Linked DNA regions of Homo sapiens: regions 2, 3, 4, 5, 6 and 7 are each linked to region 1. The links are contacts of gene promoters, found by promoter capture Hi-C in blood cells and fetal thymus (Javierre and others, 2016). All regions are on one chromosome and are shown on one strand. Each heading gives the region's core, a stretch centred on a gene start or on the middle of the fragment in contact. The rest is flanking DNA. Distances are from core to core; before and after follow the strand shown.

The links. The method cuts DNA at HindIII sites, captures the fragments that hold promoters and counts their contacts. A CHiCAGO score of 5 or more calls a contact.
Region 2: a contact is called between the fragment with the promoter of MAP3K2 here and the fragment with the promoter of FAM168B in region 1, in 6 of 17 cell types (total CD4 T cells, total CD8 T cells, fetal thymus and 3 more). The highest score is 13.3, in total CD4 T cells.
Region 3: a contact is called between a fragment that was not itself captured here and the fragment with the promoter of FAM168B in region 1, in 1 of 17 cell types (monocytes). The highest score is 7.5, in monocytes.
Region 4: a fragment that was not itself captured here is called in contact with the fragment with the promoter of FAM168B in region 1 in 1 of 17 cell types (M0 macrophages); the score reaches 8.5 in M0 macrophages.
Region 5: a fragment that was not itself captured here is called in contact with the fragment with the promoter of FAM168B in region 1 in 5 of 17 cell types (fetal thymus, total CD4 T cells, non-activated CD4 T cells and 2 more); the score reaches 9.9 in fetal thymus.
Region 6: a contact is called between a fragment that was not itself captured here and the fragment with the promoter of FAM168B in region 1, in 13 of 17 cell types (fetal thymus, activated CD4 T cells, total B cells and 10 more). The highest score is 20.9, in fetal thymus.
Region 7: a contact is called between a fragment that was not itself captured here and the fragment with the promoter of FAM168B in region 1, in 1 of 17 cell types (monocytes). The highest score is 7.5, in monocytes.

What each region holds. Positions count from the first base shown.
Region 1 is chr2:131,092,029-131,094,728 of GRCh38, forward strand. FAM168B (family with sequence similarity 168 member B) reads right to left here and starts at 1,432. Exons shown (of 7, transcript NM_001009993.4): 1 at 1,186-1,432. RefSeq lists a silencer at 886-1,605. The HindIII fragment of the contact is 2,381 bases long and covers 502-2,700 here.
Region 2 is chr2:127,386,725-127,389,424 of GRCh38, forward strand. MAP3K2 (mitogen-activated protein kinase kinase kinase 2) reads right to left here and starts at 1,251. Exons shown (of 17, transcript NM_001371910.2): 1 at 728-1,251. It overlaps MAP3K2-DT (MAP3K2 divergent transcript), which reads left to right and starts at 714. Exons shown (of 4, transcript NR_187129.1): 1 at 714-828; 2 at 2,157-2,274; 3 at 2,387-2,461. RefSeq lists a silencer at 671-1,540. The HindIII fragment of the contact is 12,520 bases long and covers 1-2,700 here.
Region 3 is chr2:127,721,917-127,724,616 of GRCh38, forward strand. WDR33 (WD repeat domain 33) reads right to left here. Exons shown (of 22, transcript NM_018383.5): 11 at 2,417-2,527; 12 at 1,337-1,431; 13 at 1,042-1,128; 14 at 675-814; 15 at 1-72. Among named protein-coding and RNA genes, the nearest start is that of SFT2D3, 22 kb to the left of the region's middle. RefSeq lists an enhancer at 1-646. The HindIII fragment of the contact is 2,078 bases long and covers 311-2,388 here.
Region 4 is chr2:134,907,134-134,909,833 of GRCh38, forward strand. The region is part of intron 1 of CCNT2-AS1 (CCNT2 antisense RNA 1); the gene reads right to left. Among named protein-coding and RNA genes, the nearest start is that of CCNT2-AS1, 10 kb to the right of the region's middle. The HindIII fragment of the contact is 3,815 bases long and covers 1-2,700 here.
Region 5 is chr2:135,056,973-135,059,672 of GRCh38, forward strand. RAB3GAP1 (RAB3 GTPase activating protein catalytic subunit 1) reads left to right here. Exons shown (of 24, transcript NM_012233.3): 3 at 1,039-1,114. Among named protein-coding and RNA genes, the nearest start is that of RAB3GAP1, 6.0 kb to the left of the region's middle. The HindIII fragment of the contact is 595 bases long and covers 1,018-1,612 here.
Region 6 is chr2:134,923,464-134,926,163 of GRCh38, forward strand. All of the region lies in intron 2 of CCNT2 (cyclin T2), which reads left to right. Among named protein-coding and RNA genes, the nearest start is that of CCNT2, 6.0 kb to the left of the region's middle. The HindIII fragment of the contact is 4,940 bases long and covers 1-2,700 here.
Region 7 is chr2:127,695,487-127,698,186 of GRCh38, forward strand. No RefSeq gene overlaps it. Among named protein-coding and RNA genes, the nearest start is that of SFT2D3, 4.7 kb to the right of the region's middle. The HindIII fragment of the contact is 241 bases long and covers 1,153-1,393 here.

The sequences.
Region 1 (2,700 bases), core at 182-2,681:
AGCTACTTGGGAGGCTGAGGCAAAAGACTGACGTGAATCCGGGAGGCGGAGCTTGCAGTGAGCCGAGATGGCGCCACTGCACTCCAGTCTGGGAAACAGAGGGAGACTCCGTCTCAAAAAAAAAAAAAAAAGTGCTCAATTGATCCAGGAAAAGAAACTGTCTAAGACAACTTGGGTATAATTTCCCTTTAAACTACGGAACTCCACCAAAGTAAGCCTGCTTTGTAAAGACAAAGAGAAGCAAGATCTTCACAATTTCTGCAACACTAGCTTCAAAATTAGAATAGCCTTACACTGCTCAAATCTTGGCTGTCAAAGCAAAAATAACCCACTCCTTCATCTACAAGAGCTTAAAAATGTGTCCTGTTTTTGCCAAAACCAAAAAGTTTTATTTAATCTAGAATCTTTCATCCATAGTATTTGAGAAAAGTGATCTCAAATTACACAAGGATGACCTGAAAGTTTAAGGAGTGGAAACTATATAAACCTTTTTATTTATAAAGCTTCCTTGCATGCGAAAACACTGCAAAATATTCTTGTTTGACTTTAATGATTAAACATTAACTCAAACAGCCCATGAGATGCACACTTCATGTTCACATACACTATAAAACAGAAATACCCTTATTTGTGGACGTCGTAAAGGCGCACTGCACTCTTTTTTCAAAGTTAACCCAGGCTAGGCCACGAAACGTCCTTTCTGAAGGAAATCTTAAAAATCTGTAATTTAAATCGTGCCTTTTCAAGCTGGAAGGAGAACGCTCAGATTCCGCCAAGCAAAAAAATAAAAATAAAAATTATCTTTACTTCGTGGGTAGACAAAGTGAGCAGTTACACATTGGAAATGACTATTGTCACAAAGCTCTGCCCCCGGGTTTCACGCTCGCATTCCTGACGGCTGTGACCCCGACCTTTAGGAGAACGCCCCGCGCCGCGAAGCCACCTCGGCCACCTAGGCGGCAGGCCCGCGCCGCCCGGACCGCACCTGCACGCGTACGTGTCCGGCCGAGCTCCGCCCCCGGCCCCCGCCCGGCCTTGCCCGCGGCACAAAGCGCAGCCCAGGCCGGTCCAGACGCCCAGCGACCCCGAGCCGCGGGCCGACCTTGGCGCCGCCCCGAGCCGGCCGCACAAAGCGCCGCACTTCCGGCCTGGACGCGCAGTCGCCCGCTGCCCGCCCCCACTCACCGCGCCGCGGCGGCGACCTGGGCCTCAGTGACCAGCGCACGCCGGCCCGCGGCGGGCTTGGCCGTGGGGCGAAACAAGGGGGGCGTGCCGAGGAGACCTGCTACGATAAGAGGCTGACCCTCCGAGCCCCGCGTCTCCGCCGCCTCCCGGACGCCGCGCTCCCGCTCGCTCGGCTCCGCTTGGCCCGGCCCGCCTCTCCGCAGCCCGCGCTCCCCGCCGACGCTGCGCAGCCACCGGAGCCGCCGACCTCACTTCCGCCTGAGCGCGCCGCGACGGGGGCGCGCCGGGCACGTGACTGCGCAGCGTGCTCGCTCCCGCCGGCGCCCTCGAGACGCCCGGATGGACGAGCGCGAGCGCGAGCGCGGAGTGGGCCGGTCCCAGTTGGCGAAAGGGCCGGGTGTAGCTGTAGTTTTTTTATTAACTGTCTGTGAAAAAAGTATTTAATTTATATTTTGAGATAGTCCCGCGCCGCAGAAACCTTTGTGTGTGCCCAGACGCCAGGGCGCGGATCCTCAGGCCGCACCCGGGAGTCGAGCACACCCCGGGTGACCGCCACTACGGGGTCGGAGCGGGGCGGAGCTCAGCTCACAGATTCTTTGCCAGTGCGGAGGCTGCGGGCGCCCGCTCAGGAGTGCAGATTTTAGAGAATGCAAGTCAGCGTTTCAAGTGTAGAAGTGCGGGATCATTTCTATAGACAAGAGTTCAGGGAAGTGTACTAGAATGTTAGGGGGTTTTTTGGTTTTTTTTTGAGACGGAGTTTCGCTCTTGTCACCCAGGCTGGAGTACAATGGCGCGATCTTGGCTCACTGCAACCTCCGCTTCCCGGGTTCAAGCGATTCTCCTGCCTCAGCCTCCTGAGTAATTGAGATTCCAGGCGCCCGCCACCACACCTGGCTAATTTTTGTGTTAGTAGAGACGGGGGTTTCACCATGTTGGTCAGGCTAGTCTCGAACCCGTGACCTCAGGTGATCCACCCACGTTGGCCTCCCAAAGTGCTGGGATTACAAGTGTGAGCCACCGCACCCGGCCAAATGTTAGTATTTTTATGTAAGGCTTAGTGTATAGTTACAATGATTTGGTTAGTTCAGGGTGTCTCTCTGGGGGAGGTATGTTTATTATTTCGTATTAAAGAGGTGCGTGTCTTGGTGTTTGTGTTTGGGGTGTCGTCTGGTCTGAGCTAGGTACAGGACGACAAAGGAGGGAGTTATTGCAATAAAGATTAGTGATGGAAGGGAGGAGGCCTGGCTCTGGTCTTTTTTCAGTCGTTTATGAAATAAAAACAGATGGGCGCGGTGTCTCACGCCTTTAATCCCGGCACTTATAGGAGGCCGAGGCGGGCAGATCACGAGGTCAGGAGTTCAAGACCAGCCTGGCCAACATAGTGAAACCGCGTCTCTACTAAAAATACAAAAATTAGCTGCGCGTGGTGGCGCACATCTGTAACCTTAGCTGCTCTGGAGGCTGAGGCAGGAGAATCTCTTGAACCCGGGAGGCGGAGGTTGCAGTGAGCCGAGA
Region 2 (2,700 bases), core at 1-2,500, 3.7 Mb before region 1:
TAGGGAAAACTAAACTGTATCTGTCTATGTGTTTAGAATTTATCCCATTAAAGAAACTGCCCAGTTAGTCTCATTTTCTAAACGTATTTATTTTTTGCAAGACGAGAAATACAGTCTTACAAAAAGACATCTGCATATTCGAACCAAGCCTTCCTGGATTACTACCTTCATGACCTTGGACAAATGCCTTAATCTCTCTGAGCCTCAAGTTTTCACCTGCAAAATGGGGCAATTTACCCACCTCATTGAGCTGGGAAGATGAAGAGAGATAATGCATGACAACTGCCGGGCGCAGACTAAGAGCACCCTAAGTGCTACCTAAATATTCCGTAAAGAGAAAAGGGGGAAACAACCTTACATCAAAAGATTACCACACTGTGACAGTGCAAAGACAAGCACTTTTTCGCTTACTGCATGTACCATTTCTGCTTCATCCCAAGACCAGATGCAACCTTTCTTCTAAAATCTCTGCAGGGTACGTGTCTGACAGCTAACACAGCCCAGCAGCCTACTTCGCGCTGACCTGGGCTTTAGGACTGGATGCAGGGGGCCCAAGGTCCGCCCTCCCGCAGCTAGGCAATCACCCAGCGAAATCTCCGCCCCTGGAGCGGCGCTTAGGCCGCCGCCAGCCCCCCTCCCGGCGCCCAGCCCGCGGCCCCCGACACACACGCGCGCACACACACACACACACACACACAAGCGCGCGCGCACGCACACACGCACGTACCGGCTGCTCCGCAGGGACGTAGAGAGCCGCAGGCCCAAGGAGGGGCCGCCCCCGCCGAGCCCGCCCCTCCGCCCCAGCGCGGCCTGTCACCGCGGCCCCAGGTCGGGGGCTGCCGCAGGGCCCCCGGGGACCGGAGGGGCGCGCGAGGAGTCGGGCGCGGGCCTTGGGGCCAGGCCCGTCCCTCTTTCACATGAAGCCCGGGCCGGGCGGGGTGGCGGGCGCGTGAATCCTCGCAGCCGGCCGGGTCCTCCTGGCGCTCCTCGGCACTTCTAGCCGCTGCAACCCCGAGGCCCGCGGGAACTGGGCAGGAAAGGAGGAAGCCGCGGGCCCGCGTCGCTAGAGACCGGAGAAGAGGCGGGAGTGGCGACTCTGCGGACAGGGGCGCCGAGCGTCCTGGTCGTTGTTTTCGTCGCCGCCGCGGGCCGTGCAACCCCCGAACGCTGCGCCCAGCGGCCGCGGCACCCTCGTCAGGCGCCGCCGCTGAGGGCAGGCAGCCCGGCAGCCACTACACACGGACCCGTGACGTCGGGCGTAGCGCGGCGCACGTCACGGCCGCTCGCTCGTGCGCGCGCACCCCTCCGCCCGGCGGTAGCGGAACCCGCCGCGGGCGCGCGCCCGGCCCAGGGGAGTGGGTCGGCGCCTGCGCAGAGGCCCGCCACGCCCACACACAGGCCACCGCCCCCACCGGCCGGACGGCGCGGGGATTCCCAGTCCTGGCTCCGCCCCGGCCTCGGCCCCGCCCCCGCCCCTGCCCCGGGGCAGCCTGTGCTGTTCCGTGTGCGCGGCGCATACGCACCTGGGTTGTCTCGAGCCTGCGGTAGTGGCCAGATCCCAGACATCCGAGTAGATCCCGTGAAAAGGTCTCCCACGTGGGCTGTGGACAGGGCCCAAGGGTAGCAGAGCTAGCAGAGGCAGTGACGGACTGTGTGGCAGGTCATTTGCAAGGAGAAAAGCCGTCTGCCTCTTAATTTGTGGCTCAAGTTTCAGAATTTTTTTCCTGAGGGACTTTAGAAATTACTTCAGGCTTGCCACCTAACCTTAAACCACCCCCTTGGAGACTGGCTAAGTGTTATTTGTGTTTTCTGTTTAGTTCTTATCACCATCGATACTTGGTTATGACTGGTTGTGTACATTGGTTAGCCCAGCAAGTATTACTTCTCCAGCTTAACAGATGTGGAAACTTAAGCCCAGAGACATGAGTTGACACCCCACCCCCAAAGCTAGAGTCTAAAACCCTTTCTTTCGCTCCTCATCTCCCACAGGATAAAATGCAAATTAATCAGACTAGTGGTGAGGCCCTCCGTGGTGTGACTAACCTGCATCCCGACGTTTTCACCCTACTTTGATCCAGAAAGCACCTTTCCGCCCCATCTCTTCTCCTTTCCTTAAATACCCCTTACAACTTCCTGTACCATTCTTCCCTGTTCAGCTTCTTCTTGGTTTCTTCGTACATTCTGGATCCACCCCTTTCATGCATATTCCAGACCACATTTCCACTGGAGCAGTTGAAATGAGAGAGATGGGAATGGGACTCACCCGAACCAGAGGTAAGGAGCTACCCAACTTGGGCTCTGAGGGTCAAGGGAGCTGGCACTTGTGGGGCAGAGACTGAGGGAGAAACTGTTGTGTAATGTCAAAATATCTCTGGGTTTCTTCCAGGAATTTTTATTACAGACCCATTAACAGAGGTGTCAAAGTCACAGGAACAAGGATGTGCACCTCAGAAACACAGAGGTCAGTGGAAAATCAGTTTGCTTCTATTTGTTTAAAAAATGGGGGACTTATGCATAAATCTAAGACCTTCTTGAATCTAACATTCTAAGACCTGTATGCCACAGAAAGGAGGGTCTCAGAACGCCGGAGGATAGTATTTAAATCTTAAATATCTATATTGTTCTCCACAGTTACTGGGTCACCACATAGCAGGCATTCAATAAAAACGTGTTTGTTTACTAAGTAATCTAGAGATAAAT
Region 3 (2,700 bases), core at 100-2,599, 3.4 Mb before region 1:
TTTAATGTCTTCTTTTCTGTCATTCAGCACCTCATTTGGAGCAGGAATTGGAACTTTATTTTGCATCCAAGCCTTGGGAAAGAAGAGAATATTAAAATGTACGCTAAGTATGAAAATTACAATGATAGAATGAGAAAACCACTCTACAATGTCATCTGCTCAATCTAACCTCTGAACCGATTTTATTTCTTTTTACCTTTTCTCCATGACTCAAGTACATGACTCATGCTAATTCTTACTGACATATTACTAGGTAGAAATTACTATGGTGATAAAAGCTGCAAGACACTGCATGTTATTAAGAATGCAAAGCTTGCCAGCCTCTTCACAGGGTACATGCACTTTGTGTTGAGGGGACAATTAAAGCACAAGATAGATAAACAATGGAGAAGAGAAGCAACATACTCCCATACTCCCTCTGCTCCATGCCTCTTTCTTCTATTTCCTCTCATAGCATGGATGATAATAAGCAGGTGAGGACAGAACAGAGAAGACTGATAACAAACTCAATACAACTGCAAAGCAGTAGATGAGAACCATGTCTAAGAGTACGTGAACATGGGAAAAATGCTCCAGTACAGAAACACCTTCAACAGTGAGATAATCCAAGAGAAACCTCAAACTAACCAACCAAAACCTCTCTGCGTGGATGAGGTGGAGTCACTTTTACTTACCTGCTGGAACTGAGCAGGAATGGGTTTTGCATAAGGAACTTTCTTCTGAGGTACTTTTTTCTGATCCTTTTGCATCACTTCCTCCATTCCCCAATCTAAACCTGGAATTGTCATTTCAATTTCATTTGATTCATCTTTCCCTGTAACCGTAAAGAAAAGTGGTTTGCCTCTTAAATAAAAGAAATTGGCCACTTGATCAATGAACACATTATTGGAAGAATAGATTTTAAGTATTATGTCATTTATATAATTTTTATCAACATTTCTCAACATAAATCATTTTGGTATTTCAATATATTTATCAGGAACATAAACGGGTCAAGAAAAAATTTGTAAAAATTAAATGTGTCTGTGTAACTTCTCTTACCCATCTGTTCTTGTTCCATAGCTAATTTTAGTTGTTCTGGTATTCCCATTCCTGGAATTACTGCCAGGCTATTAGGTTCGAGGTCATCTATAAATAGTAATACACCATTGTCAATAGAGAATTTACAAAAGTAGCGACTGATAAAATTAATGCTTTATAAAAATGAATGTCACTGATGATTTATAAATAAATCTACTATAAAATTAAAATTCATTTTGTATAATCTTCCCAACATCTAACACTTCTGTAATAGAATACCAGATTTCAAAGAAGGACAGATGTGCAAGAGTCTCACCATATTCTACTCCATCTTCAGACATTCCAGGTAAAAGGTTTAGATTATATCGATCTCGCATTTTATCACCTGGTCGGTTTCGAGTCCAGAATTTGCTGTAAAAATAATTAAAGGAGAAAAGAAGCATGGCTTCACTATTTTTTTGGGCACTAAACAGTACTAGGCAGACCCTTGGTAAACACAACACATTTTTACAATTTGTTTCTTCTACAAATTTAAAATGTGAGGTCATACACTTTGGCTCACATCTGTAATCCCAGCACTTTGGGAGGCTGTGGCAGGAGGATTAAGTCCAGGAGTCCAAGACCAGCCTGGGCAACATAGCGAAACCCTGTCTCTACAAAATAAAAATTAAAAAGTTAGCTGGGTGTGGTGGCACACACCTGTAGTCTCAGCTACTCACGAGGATAAGGCGGGAAGATGGCTTGAGCCCAGGAGTTTGAGGCTACAGTGAGCTGTGATCTCACCACAGAACTCTAGTCTCGGTGACAGAGTGAGACTCTGTCTCTTAAAATAATAATAAAAATAAAAATAAAATGTGGGGCCGGGCAAGGTGGCTCATGCCTGTAATCCCAGCACCTTGGGAGGCTGAGGCAGGAGGATTGCCTAAGCCCAGGAGTTTGACATCAGCCTGGGCAACATGGTGAAACCCCATCTCTACAAAAAATGCAAAAATTAGCCAGGTGTGGTGGTGTGCTCCTATAGTCTCAGCTACTCAGGAGGCTGAGGTAGGAGGATCACCTGAGCCCAGGAAGGTTGAGGCTATAGTGAGCTGAGACCGCACCATTGCACGCCAGCCTGGACAGAGACCCTGTCTCAAATAAATAAATAAATAAATAAATAAAAGTGGAAAACTTCTGTTTTAAGTCAGAAGGCAAAACAAAATTTGAATAGCCAAAACCATATTCAATACCCAATCTCTTTATTGCAATATAAGTATTTGTAAACCACTACAAAAATATTCCCAAGAATAAGTTGGAATATAAATTACTATATCAATCAACCAATAAAAATAAACACATACAGTATTTATTTCCTGTTGCTCCATATAAAGCTTTGCTATTTCAATATAAAGCTTACCTAGTATGGTCATTTGAGCCTGAGCAGAGAATATGCCCAAGAGGATGCCAAGCCAGACTCCAGATCATCCCTTCGTGAGCCATCTCCATCCCACCCACTTCCTTCTCTACCCTGCAACAGCACCAAAGAGAGAAGATTTGTTCACAAAAGTTACCCAGCTTCTCCCTCCCCCTCAAAAAAGACATTTTCTGTTACTCTTAAAATGAAGCTACCAAAGCCTGGACTTGGACTCTGGTGAATTCCACATGTCTCGGGGTATTGGCTTGTCATTGCCAAAGGACAGT
Region 4 (2,700 bases), core at 174-2,673, 3.8 Mb after region 1:
CTGAATTTGTCAGCCTCTTTCTTCAGCCTCTCACCTTGGGGGTGGGTTTGCACAGACCTGCTCACCACGGAACAGGCAGGAGAGAACACAGCAAGAAAGAAAACCACTGTGGCTGAAGATGACAAAGGAAGACATTCTTGGTAAAAAGTGACAAGCTCATGTGAGGCCATAAGTCAGTTGAGGAATTTTATATGTTGAAAAGCTGTGAGAACTCACAAATGGGAGAAAACATTTGCAAACTACCCATCTGACAAGGGATTAAGAACCAGAATCTATAACGTGCTCAAACAACTCTACAAGAAAAAAATTTAATAATCTGATTTTGAAATGGGCAAAAGATTTGAATAGACATTTCTCAAAAGAAGACATACAAATGGTAGACAGGCATATGAAAATGTCCTCAGTATCATGGCTCATCAGAGAAATGCAAATCAAAACTATAGTCAGATATCATCTCACCCCAGTAAAAATGGCATTTTTCCAAAAGACAACCAATAACAAATGCTGGCAAGGATGTGGAGAAAAGGGAACTCTTGTCCATTGTTGGTGGGAATGTAAATTAGTACAACCACTATGGACAACAGTTTGGAGGTTCCTCAAAAAACTAAAAATAGAGCTACCATGTGATCTAGTAATCCCACTGCTGGGTACATACCCAAAAGAAAGGAAGACAGTATATCAAAAGGATATCTGCACTCTCATATTTGTTGCAGCTGTGTTCACAATAGCCAAGGTTTGGAAGCAACCTAAGTATTCACCAACAGATGAATGATTAAACAAACTGTGGTACATATATACAATGGAGTACTATTCAGCCATAAAAAAGGATGAGATCCTGTCATTTGCAACAACGATGGAACTGGAGGTCATTATGTTAAGTGAAATAAGCCAGGCACAGAAAGACAAACTTTGCATGTTCTCACTTATTTGTGGGAGCAAAAATTAAAATAATTGAATTTACAGACATAAAGAGTAAAAGGATGATTACTAGAGACTGGAGTGGATAATTGGGGAATGGGGATGGCTCATGGGTACCAAAAGTAGTTAGAAAAAATGAATAAGACCTCATATGTGATAGCACAATAGGTGACTATTATAGTCAATAATAATTTAATTATACATTTAAAAATAACTAAAAGTATATAATTGAGTTGTCTGTGACACAAAGGATAAACGCATGAGGGGGATGGATACCCAATTTACCAAGATGTGATTAATAAGCATTGCATACCTGTATCAAAATATCTCATGTACCCCACACTACTATGCACCCACAAAAATTAAAAATTAAAAAAAAAACAACAAGAGTTGGAAGCAAAGAAGCATGGATTGGAGTCTTACGGTCACAAGCCAAGAAAGGCCTAGAGTCACCAAAAGCTGAAGAGCCTAGAAACAGATTCTCCCCAATAGTCTTCAGAGGGAGCACAGCCCTGCTGTTTTAGTCCAGTTTTCATTGCTCATAGCAGGATACCTGAAACAGTAATTACTTCTTAGAGTTACAGAGGCTGAGAAGTCCCAGGTTGAGGGGCCACATCTGGTGAGGGCCTTCTTACTGGTGGGGACTCTGCAGAATCCCAAGATAGTACAGGGCATCATATGGCAAGGGAGCTGAACGTGCTAGCTCCAGTCTCTTCCTCTTCTTATAAAGCCGACCAGTTCCATTACCATGATAACCCATTAATCCATTAACCTATTAATCCATTCATGAGGGCTCTGCCCTCATGACCCAATCACCTCTCAATACTGCCACATTGGGGATTAAATTTCAACATGAGTTTGGGAGAGGACAATCATTCAAACCATAGTCCCTGCCAACACATTGATTTTAGACTTCTGGCCTTTAGAATTGAGAGATAATAAATTTCTCTTGTTTTAAGTCAAAAAACAATACCAAAAGAAAACAAACAAATAATAACAACAACAACAAAGAAAAGCAATGAGAAGGTTTTTAAGTAGGGGATGGCATTAATTAGAGCTGATTTTTTTTAATCCTGCTCCTGTGGGATAGAATTCAATTTTGAAAAGATTCCTCTGGCAGGCTGCAGGATGACAACAGCTTGCAGGGGAGCTTAAGTGAAATAGCTTGGGCCAAGATGGTGGTAGTGTTGCTGGTGGAGAAACATACGTAATAGACTCCAGAGATAATAAGGGTCAACAGAAAGGCTTTGGTGATGGGTTAGATACGGGAGATAAGGATTACAGATACCAAAGATGACCCCTAAGTTTCGGACTTGCATAACTGGAAGTAGTGCCATTTTACTACAAGAGGCACAGAGAGAAGACCAGGTTGGAAAGACAGGATTATGAGTTTAGTTTGGGGAAATATTGATTATTAATGCCTTTGAGACACACAAAAGGGAAAGTCGAGTGTGCAGACTTATGCAGTTTGAATTTCCTAGCACACAGTAACATCTCTACTAGCATTCACTGGATAAATAAATAGTAAAATAAAAATAAGTAAACAGGTCTTCCTCCTAAAATGAGCAAAGAAAGGAACCGGAAATCAATCTTCACCGAGTATGTTAGGAATTCATGCAGTTCTGAGTGTAATCCAAATGGCAAGGCCTCACAAATTTGTGACTATCTACAATGACTTGAGTCTTCACTATCCTCGTGAGCCTTTCTTCTTGGCTCACCCGCCTAGTAAGCCCTTCTCCTTGGCTAATAGATGGGTGTCTTCTCCCTGTGTCTTCATATGGT
Region 5 (2,700 bases), core at 65-2,564, 4.0 Mb after region 1:
AGAGAGCAATGTTGCTGTTAGATTGCATCATACTTAGCTTATATAAGAAGTCAACTTAGAGTAAGAATAATTCTTCTGAAAATGTCTTTGACTGAGACTTGACAGTTTTCATTTACTGATGTTGAGCATGTTGCTACTCAAAATTCAGTTCTCTTTTTAATAGGCCTTCTTGACCATTGGATTTAAAGATTGGTGACTAGTTTTAAGACCTGTCACTTATACTTAAAGTTGACATATTTACTTGCAATTTCTTGTCAGCTGTCCATTAAAACTTGTTTTAGTTTCATGAACCAAGTTACCAAATAATATTTTCTTTTTTTGTTGGGGGCTGGGGGGGTAAATCGGAATTCCTAATATATTTAAAGGAAAAGTTTATTTAAATAGGTCAGTTATTGTGGGTAGGAGAGAGATGATTGGTTTCATAATTTTATTTATTTATTTATTTTTGAGATGGAATCTCACTCTGTCGCCCAGGCTGGCGTGCAGTGGCGCGATGTCCGCTCACTGCAACGTCCGCTTCTATGTGATTTTTGTGCCTCAGCCTCCTGCGTAGCTGGGATTACAGATGTGTGCCACCACACCGGGCTAATTTTTTTTGTATTTGTGCTGGGCTGGTCTTGAACTCCCAACCTCAGGGTTAGGAATTCAAAGGGCTGGAATTACAGGCATGAGCCACTGCACCCAGCCCATAATTATCTTTAATAGTATCATTTTAGTCTGTCAGTTTTTATTTGTGCCCCAAATTTGTTTTATTCGTTTTATTAGAGATTCATCAATTCTTAATTTACATTTTATAGAAGGCAGAATGCTTTTGTTGGGTAAGCAATAGATATAAATGAATCAAAACCTAAGAATTCTTGAATGAAAGAAGATTATTTCTCTTACCCCATATCCATAAATTAAGCTAGCAATACTAAATGTACTGAGTCCTCTCTGGTCAAATTGTTAAAATATAAAAAATACCTTTTTAAAGAAATTACATAATAATAGGAAAAAAGGTGTGCTGTTGTATTTAGAAGCTTTCTCCCTACTTCCTAGGTTTATTTCCAAAGTTGAAGAAGTCTTGAATGACTGGAAACTGATTGGAAACTCTTTGGGAAAGCCACTCGAAAAGGTCAGATCTATTTGCTGGTGTCTCTAAATGACTATTTACTTTGAAACCTCTATTTTCCAGCCCTTTGCTGCATTTGGCACATTTGAATTAAATGTTTTTTAAAGTTACGTATAATCTATAAACATCAAATAGCATTTGGAAGAATTTGGATTTAAATCTGTGGCAAATGATATATGTAAGACATTTGTGAAATGTTTAATAAAGTTATATATATGTGTGTGTGTATATATATATATATAAAATGTCATTCTTTGTGAGTGATTCTTTGTGAGTGAAGTTTGCTTCTCTTTTGCCTTCTCCCTTGGAATGTTAAAACATGTTTTTAAAAGTTTTTTATTTGGTCAGAGAAACATTGCAGTGACCATCTTCTTTGGTAGCATATTTTGCTTACTAATGAGGAAAATTCTAGTACTTACCATTGACTTACTGTAGTTAACAACTATTTCACTCAGTTTTTGTATTTTATAATATCACTAATAACATCCCCCTTCCCTTTTAAGCTTTTTAACTTATGGATGTTTTAAGGATTTTATTTAAGAATGAAAAAATTACTCTTTGAAATTGAGGTAGAAATCAAATTCTAATCTAAAGTATTGGTAGTTTTATTCATAAACCACACCCCAAATGTTTACTGAAGAATGTACTCTGAGAACAAACCTGGATTCACTGTGAAGGGATCTAACAATTTGATTTTAAGTTTATGTAGATGCTTAGTTTGTTAGATAAATTCTTTTGAAATAAAATTTATGGTTGGTTTTATTACAACTCAATATTACTAACTCAGTGATAACTTATTAACTCAGTAATTATTAATTCAATAGTAATTTAATTATAATTTACCCTGTGTTAGGAACTTTGAGTTCTCAATATTTGCTAGGGGTTTTCAGCTTTGTGATGGTGATACTATCAAAAAAGAGACTGTCAAAATGCATTAGGAAGCCAGGCAACATGGTGAGACCCTGTCTCTTAAGGAAAAAAAATCTCCTTATTTGTATCAATATGAACAGAAAAAGTAAGACCACATATAAAAAATACATCATTCAAAGACTCTTGGCAATATATACATTGATTTACTACACTACATGTGTGAATAAAGAAAATGTGACGCTTTCAAACACGGGTCATTCTACTCCACTTGAAACAAATACATAACAATTGATATAGATGCCAATAAGATTAGAGGCAAAATAAGCTGGATATAGCTAGAATAGGAAATGATTTACACTACTAAGAAGAGAGCTAAACCGGGTACTTATGAGCTCTGATATTCTTTCATTCTTTGATTTACATGTATTTACTGAGTACCTGCTATGTGCCTGATGTGAAGAAATTGTGAACAAGATAAGATCAGTGTTGCCATTGAACATAAATTCTAGTGAGGGTGATCAGTAAAGAAACATTAAAATTTTATTTTATTATTATTTTTTAAATTGATATATGATAGATGTACATATTTTGGGGTACATGTGATAATTTGATACATGCATATAATCAAATCAGGGTACTTGGGAACCCTTAAATATTTATCTTTATGCTAAGAACATGCAAGTTACTCTCTTTTAGCTATTTTGAAATGTACAGTCAAT
Region 6 (2,700 bases), core at 5-2,504, 3.8 Mb after region 1:
TTAATCCAACAATAATCTTATGCCCAAGATCCATTAGCATTACTTGGAAATACTGCAGTGCTGTCCAGTAGAACTTTCTGCATAGCGCAAGTTTTGTGTATCTGTGCTCTTCAATGTAGTAGGTACTAACCTGTAAATTTGAGACGATTAGCCTAGATGATTTTTAAATTCCTTTTAAACTATAAATTACCTGGTTGAAATTTTATTAAGATCTCACTATGCCAGGCACTTTATATTTGTCTTGTTTTCTCAGGTAAAGTATTCTCCTAAGGAAGCAGACGCAGTTACCAAGTGACTTGTCCGAAATTAAAACTATTACGTGGCTGGGATTTGAACCCAAGTCCTTTGCTTAATCCCAAACTGTAGTTCTCACTTTTTCCTGTTCTAGTATATTTCAGAAGTAGAGCACAGTAGCAATTTATGCCAGTGATTTGTAAGATTTATAAAGTAAACAATGAAAAAACCTCAGATTTTTATTTGCCCGCCTCATTGCACTAAATCCAATGAGGTCCTCTTTATAAGTCCCAAATTCCTCTTTTTCAACTATACATCAGTGTTAGCATTTATGCATTGTGTATCACTGTTTTTCCTTAGGGTGCTTTCTCTTTGCTTTCATGTGACTGTGCTCTGTCAGGTTTTAAGACTCAGCTGAAGTTGCTACTCTTTCATAAAGCATTCCCCAGATAACTCTCTTTTCCATTTGTGAATTTATCTCTCTGATCTTACCTTTGAATCTTATTCACATCCAGTTGTATTCCATCTATTTGGGAGTTTATAGTGCTGTAGTGTAACTGTACATATATGAGATGAGTGTTTTCTTTTTAATTGTAAAATATATAAAACCACCAAACAAATGTATAGTGGATTATTATAAAACAACCTTGTAATCACCAACCAAGTCAAGAAATAGAACTTTGCCAACTACCCCGGAATGTCTCCACGTGCTCAACTCAGTGTCGATCCCCTCCCTCCAAAAGTAACCAGTATTCTTTTTTATTTTTTTGAGATAGGAGTCTGGTCTTGTCGCCCAGGCTGGAGTGCAGTGGTGCAATCTCGGCTCGCTGCAACCTCCGCCTCCTGAGTTCAAGTGAATCTCCTGCCTTAGCCTCCTGGGTAGCTGGGATTACAGGCATGCACCACCATGCCCAGCTAATTTTTGTATTTTTAGTAGAGACGGGTTTTCACCATGTTGGTCTGGCTGGTCTCAAACTCCTGACCTCGTGATTCCCCCCACCTCGACCTCCCAAAGTGCTGGGATTACAGGCGTTAGCCACCTCGCCCGGCCCCAGTATTCTTACTCTAATCACTTTCTTTATAGTTTTAGCACCCAACTCTGCATTCCCAAATACCATAGACCTTGCTCATTATTAAAAATTTGGTAAGTCTTTGAAGTCTCTCAGTATGCATGTTTCCCCTCCATCTTTTTATGTCAACTAAGTTGTAGCTGTTGAAGGACCCTAGAGTGTGTGACCTGTAGAGTTTCCAACTGTCTGAATTTTGCTGATTGTATACTCATGGTGCAGTTTACTGTGTTCCTTTTTTCTTGCATTCCTGGAAAAATTGATGATTAGATCCAGAAACTTAATCAGACTCCTGTTAGATCCCTTAGGCAAGGCTATAGATGGTGTTAATGTTCTTTGGTCAGAAGGTCTAAAGTCTGGTTGTCTCTCTTTGTAGTGTTAGTGGCTGCTGATATTCAATGCCTGGGTCCTTTCATTCATTGGTGATACTCTAATTCTGTCATTTCTTTCTTACAAATTGGTATTTTTGTATTGGAATTCTTGATTCATCTCATATGGACACCCAGTGGCACGTATCATATAGGATAATTACTGGATTTTTGCCCTTTTTGTGATATAATTCACATATTGTACATTTCACCCATTGAAAGTATGATTCCGTGGGGTTTGTGGGTTTTTTTAAGAATATTCACAGAGGTGTGCATCAATTTTTAGAAGTCTTCACTACACCAAAAAGAAACCCCCAACCCCGCAGTCATTTCTCCCTATTTTTCCCCCAGCCTATTAATAGACATTTCATTAATGGAATCCTACAGTATGTTGTCCTTTGTGACTGACTTCTTTCACTTACCGTGTTTTCAAGGCTCATCTATGTTGTTGTATTTATTCAGTAGGTTGTTTACTTTTCTTGCTGTACTACCCATTATTCCACTGTATGGCTAGACCACATTATATATATATGTTCATCAGTTGGTGGGCATTTGGATTGTTAGCCACTTTTTGGCTAATATGAATAGTGCTCTTAAGAACATTTGTGTACAAGTTTTTGTGTAGACTTGTGTTTTTGGTTTCTCTTGGGCTTATACCCAGGAGTAGAATTGCTGGATCATATGGTAACTCTAGATTCCAATAATATTGGAAACTTGGATAGCTGCCTTTTTTTTTTTTTTTTTTTTTTTTGAGACTAGGTCTCCCTCTGACACCCGGGCTGGAGTGCAGTGGCACAATCATGGCTCACTGCAGCATCAACCTCCTGGGTTCAAGTGATTCCCCCACCTTAGCCTCCCAAGTAGCTGGAATTACAGGCACATGCCACCACACAGTTAATTTTTTTAATTTTTTGTAGAGACAGGGGTCTCACCATGTTGCCCAGGCCGTTCTTAAACCCCTGGACTCAAGCAGTCCTCCTGCCTCAGCCTCCCAACACTCAGCCTAAAGCAGCTCTTTCCAGTGTGATTTG
Region 7 (2,700 bases), core at 23-2,522, 3.4 Mb before region 1:
TAAATCTAATCTAGCGGGGTAGGGCTGCAGCCAAAAGCACGTGAGAGCGGCCCGCGGCCGGCGGGGTCCCGGGACAGGCCCGCGCGGGGCCGAGGTGCCAGGGCCCCCAGAGAGCGGGACGGGCGGTGCCAACTGGACAAGCCGACGCTACGAAGGCCTGAGGGACAGCGAGGCATCCTGGGAGGCGCCCTGGCTCAGACGCTCCTGTGGGAGGGCGTCTGCGTCCTCAGTTTCCCCAGGACGCGTAAGGAGAAAACCGGGGGAGGGCCCCGCACGCCGCTGCCCCCCCACGTCCAAGAGCCCGACCGTTCGCCCGCGCCCCTCGAGGAGTCTGCCCATCCCCAGCAGCACGCGAGCGCCGCCAGCGCTCCCTGGGCACCCGCTCGCACTCAAGTGCAGGCAGCGTGGTGACAATGCCAACTGCGCCCCCTATCTCTGACAGGCTCCAGAGGGGCAGTGGGAATACAGTAGCTACATGTGGCTATGATAAATATATATTAATAGTATATTATGTATGTTACATATAATAATGTGGGTACATTATGATGTTTTAAATATAATTCAATATAAATAATGAATTAACTAAAGTTAATTAAAATTTAAAATTCAGTTCCTCAGCTGCCCCGCAGGTGCAGAGGCTACATGTGGCTGCTGGTCACTGCCTTGGCCGGAGCACCTCCCTCAGTGCAGAAGCTCTATGAGCCAGTGGCCACGGAGAGGCTCTGCTGCCCCAAGGTCGGGGGGACAGGAGACATCATTTTGTGGCAAGTGCTTTGGCACTGTGCCTGAGGAAGATCACCAGGGCCAGGCGACCAACCCAGACAGTGACTGAGCCATGATGAATCAGCCTGGTGAGCCAACATTTGCCACAAAGCCTGAGCCACCCAACTTGAGGTCACCCGGAAAAGCCAAGGCAATGAAGACAGTGACAGGGGCTGGGAAGCAGGACTCAAAGAAATGAGACTTGAGAAGACCATCACCACGCAAGCAGTTAGGTATTCTTTTAAAAATTAGTAAATAAAAGAAGAAACTATAACTGCGAGACCAGCGCATACTGGGCCTACCTTGTTGATGACAGAATGTCGCATTGCTTTGTAGGTACAACAGAGCCAAAACTGCAAGCCATGTTGCCCAGGCATGCACAATGGAACAAGCTTTGACCTCTAACAATACCCAGAACCAATGACTCCTCCCCTCGGAACAAAGAAGACCAGGACAGGACTGGAACCTGAACATGGAAATCTTTCAGAAGCAGGGATGCGTCAGCCTGGGAGACTGGGGCCCAAATCTACCTTGACAAACCTTTCCATAAATCGTTAAATTTGAAGCCCGCCAATCAGACCCTGCCAAGCCAACACTGCTCAATCACTTCCCTTGCCCTCTGATCCCTTAAAGCTTACCCCAGACCTCAAACTGGGGAGACAGATTTGAGCCCCACTCCTGCCTCCTTGCTTGTCAGTTTTGCAATGAAACCTTTCTTTTCTCAAAAGCTGCTGCCAGTGTTACTGGTTTCGCTGTGCCTTGAGCAGTGAGCCCATTTGTTTGATAACAAAACTCCTCAAGGCATTGGCAATGTCACCAGTCAGTGACAGGGCTGTGTGGGCCCTGAGGACTGACCTGGAGGAAGGGGATGCTTGGGAGAGGGAGGGGAAGGAGCAGTAGACAGAGGTCCACCCAGCAGAGAGCCCAGGCTCAGCAAAGCCACAGAAGAAGGGAGTCTCCAAACTGCTAGGTCCAGAGGGACCCCACAGAGCATCGGGGAGAGCCACAGGGGCGTAAGGCAGGGCCTAGAAGGCTGGGTGGCAGGCAGGGAATTAGAATTTAATCTGTAGGAAATAAGGAGCCACTGAAGAATAGTAGATAAAGAGGACATTACTAGATTTCAGTTTTGAAAGGGGGCACTGGTGGGCCTGGTGCGGTAGCTCATGCCTGTAATCCCAGCACTTTGGGAGGCTGAGGTGGGCGGATCACTTGAGCTCTGAAGTTGGAGACCACCTGCACCATCTGTGGAAACCCCGTCTACAGGCAGGCGCCTGTAATCTCAGCTACTCCAGAGGCTGAGGTGGGAGAATCGCTTGAACCCGGGAGGCGGAGTTTGCAGTGAGCCAAGATCGCACCATTGCATTCCAGCCTGGGCAGCAGAGCAAGATCCTGTCTCAAAAATGAGGGGGTGGTTGGCGCTAGCTGACCCGCCACACTGAAGGAAGGGAGAATGTAGTTCAGGTTGCGGCCCGGCAGGGGACAAGTAAACCCAGCTGAACAGAGAGGGCCATGACAGACAGGGAAGGGAGGCAGACGCCACTCTGGAAAGCCCTCAAAAGAAGCGTGGATAACACTTGCTGGGCTCTGGGAGAAAATATAATTTCCTGCAAGTGGGAGAGGATTTGGTGCGAAGGGTGCTGCTTCCTCAGGTCAAGGTGAAAGACCTCGGCAGAAGAAAAGGCTGGCTGTGGCCCCTTCCCCTTGGGGAGGTGGGAGCTGGGACCTGCCTGACCTTATGCTAAAGTCCAACAATACTGGAAGGGAGGACGCGGGCATCTGAAGAGCCCCTGCCCAGGATGTGCAGATGCGGTGGCTGCGAGAGCTGAGGCCAGGCCCTGCCTGGTGCTGACACGGTGAAATCTAAAGCTCCTGAAAAGCCAGGCTTCTCCCCGTGGGGACAAGGCCATCGAGTACCACAGAGAAATAGGGTTTCAGAAC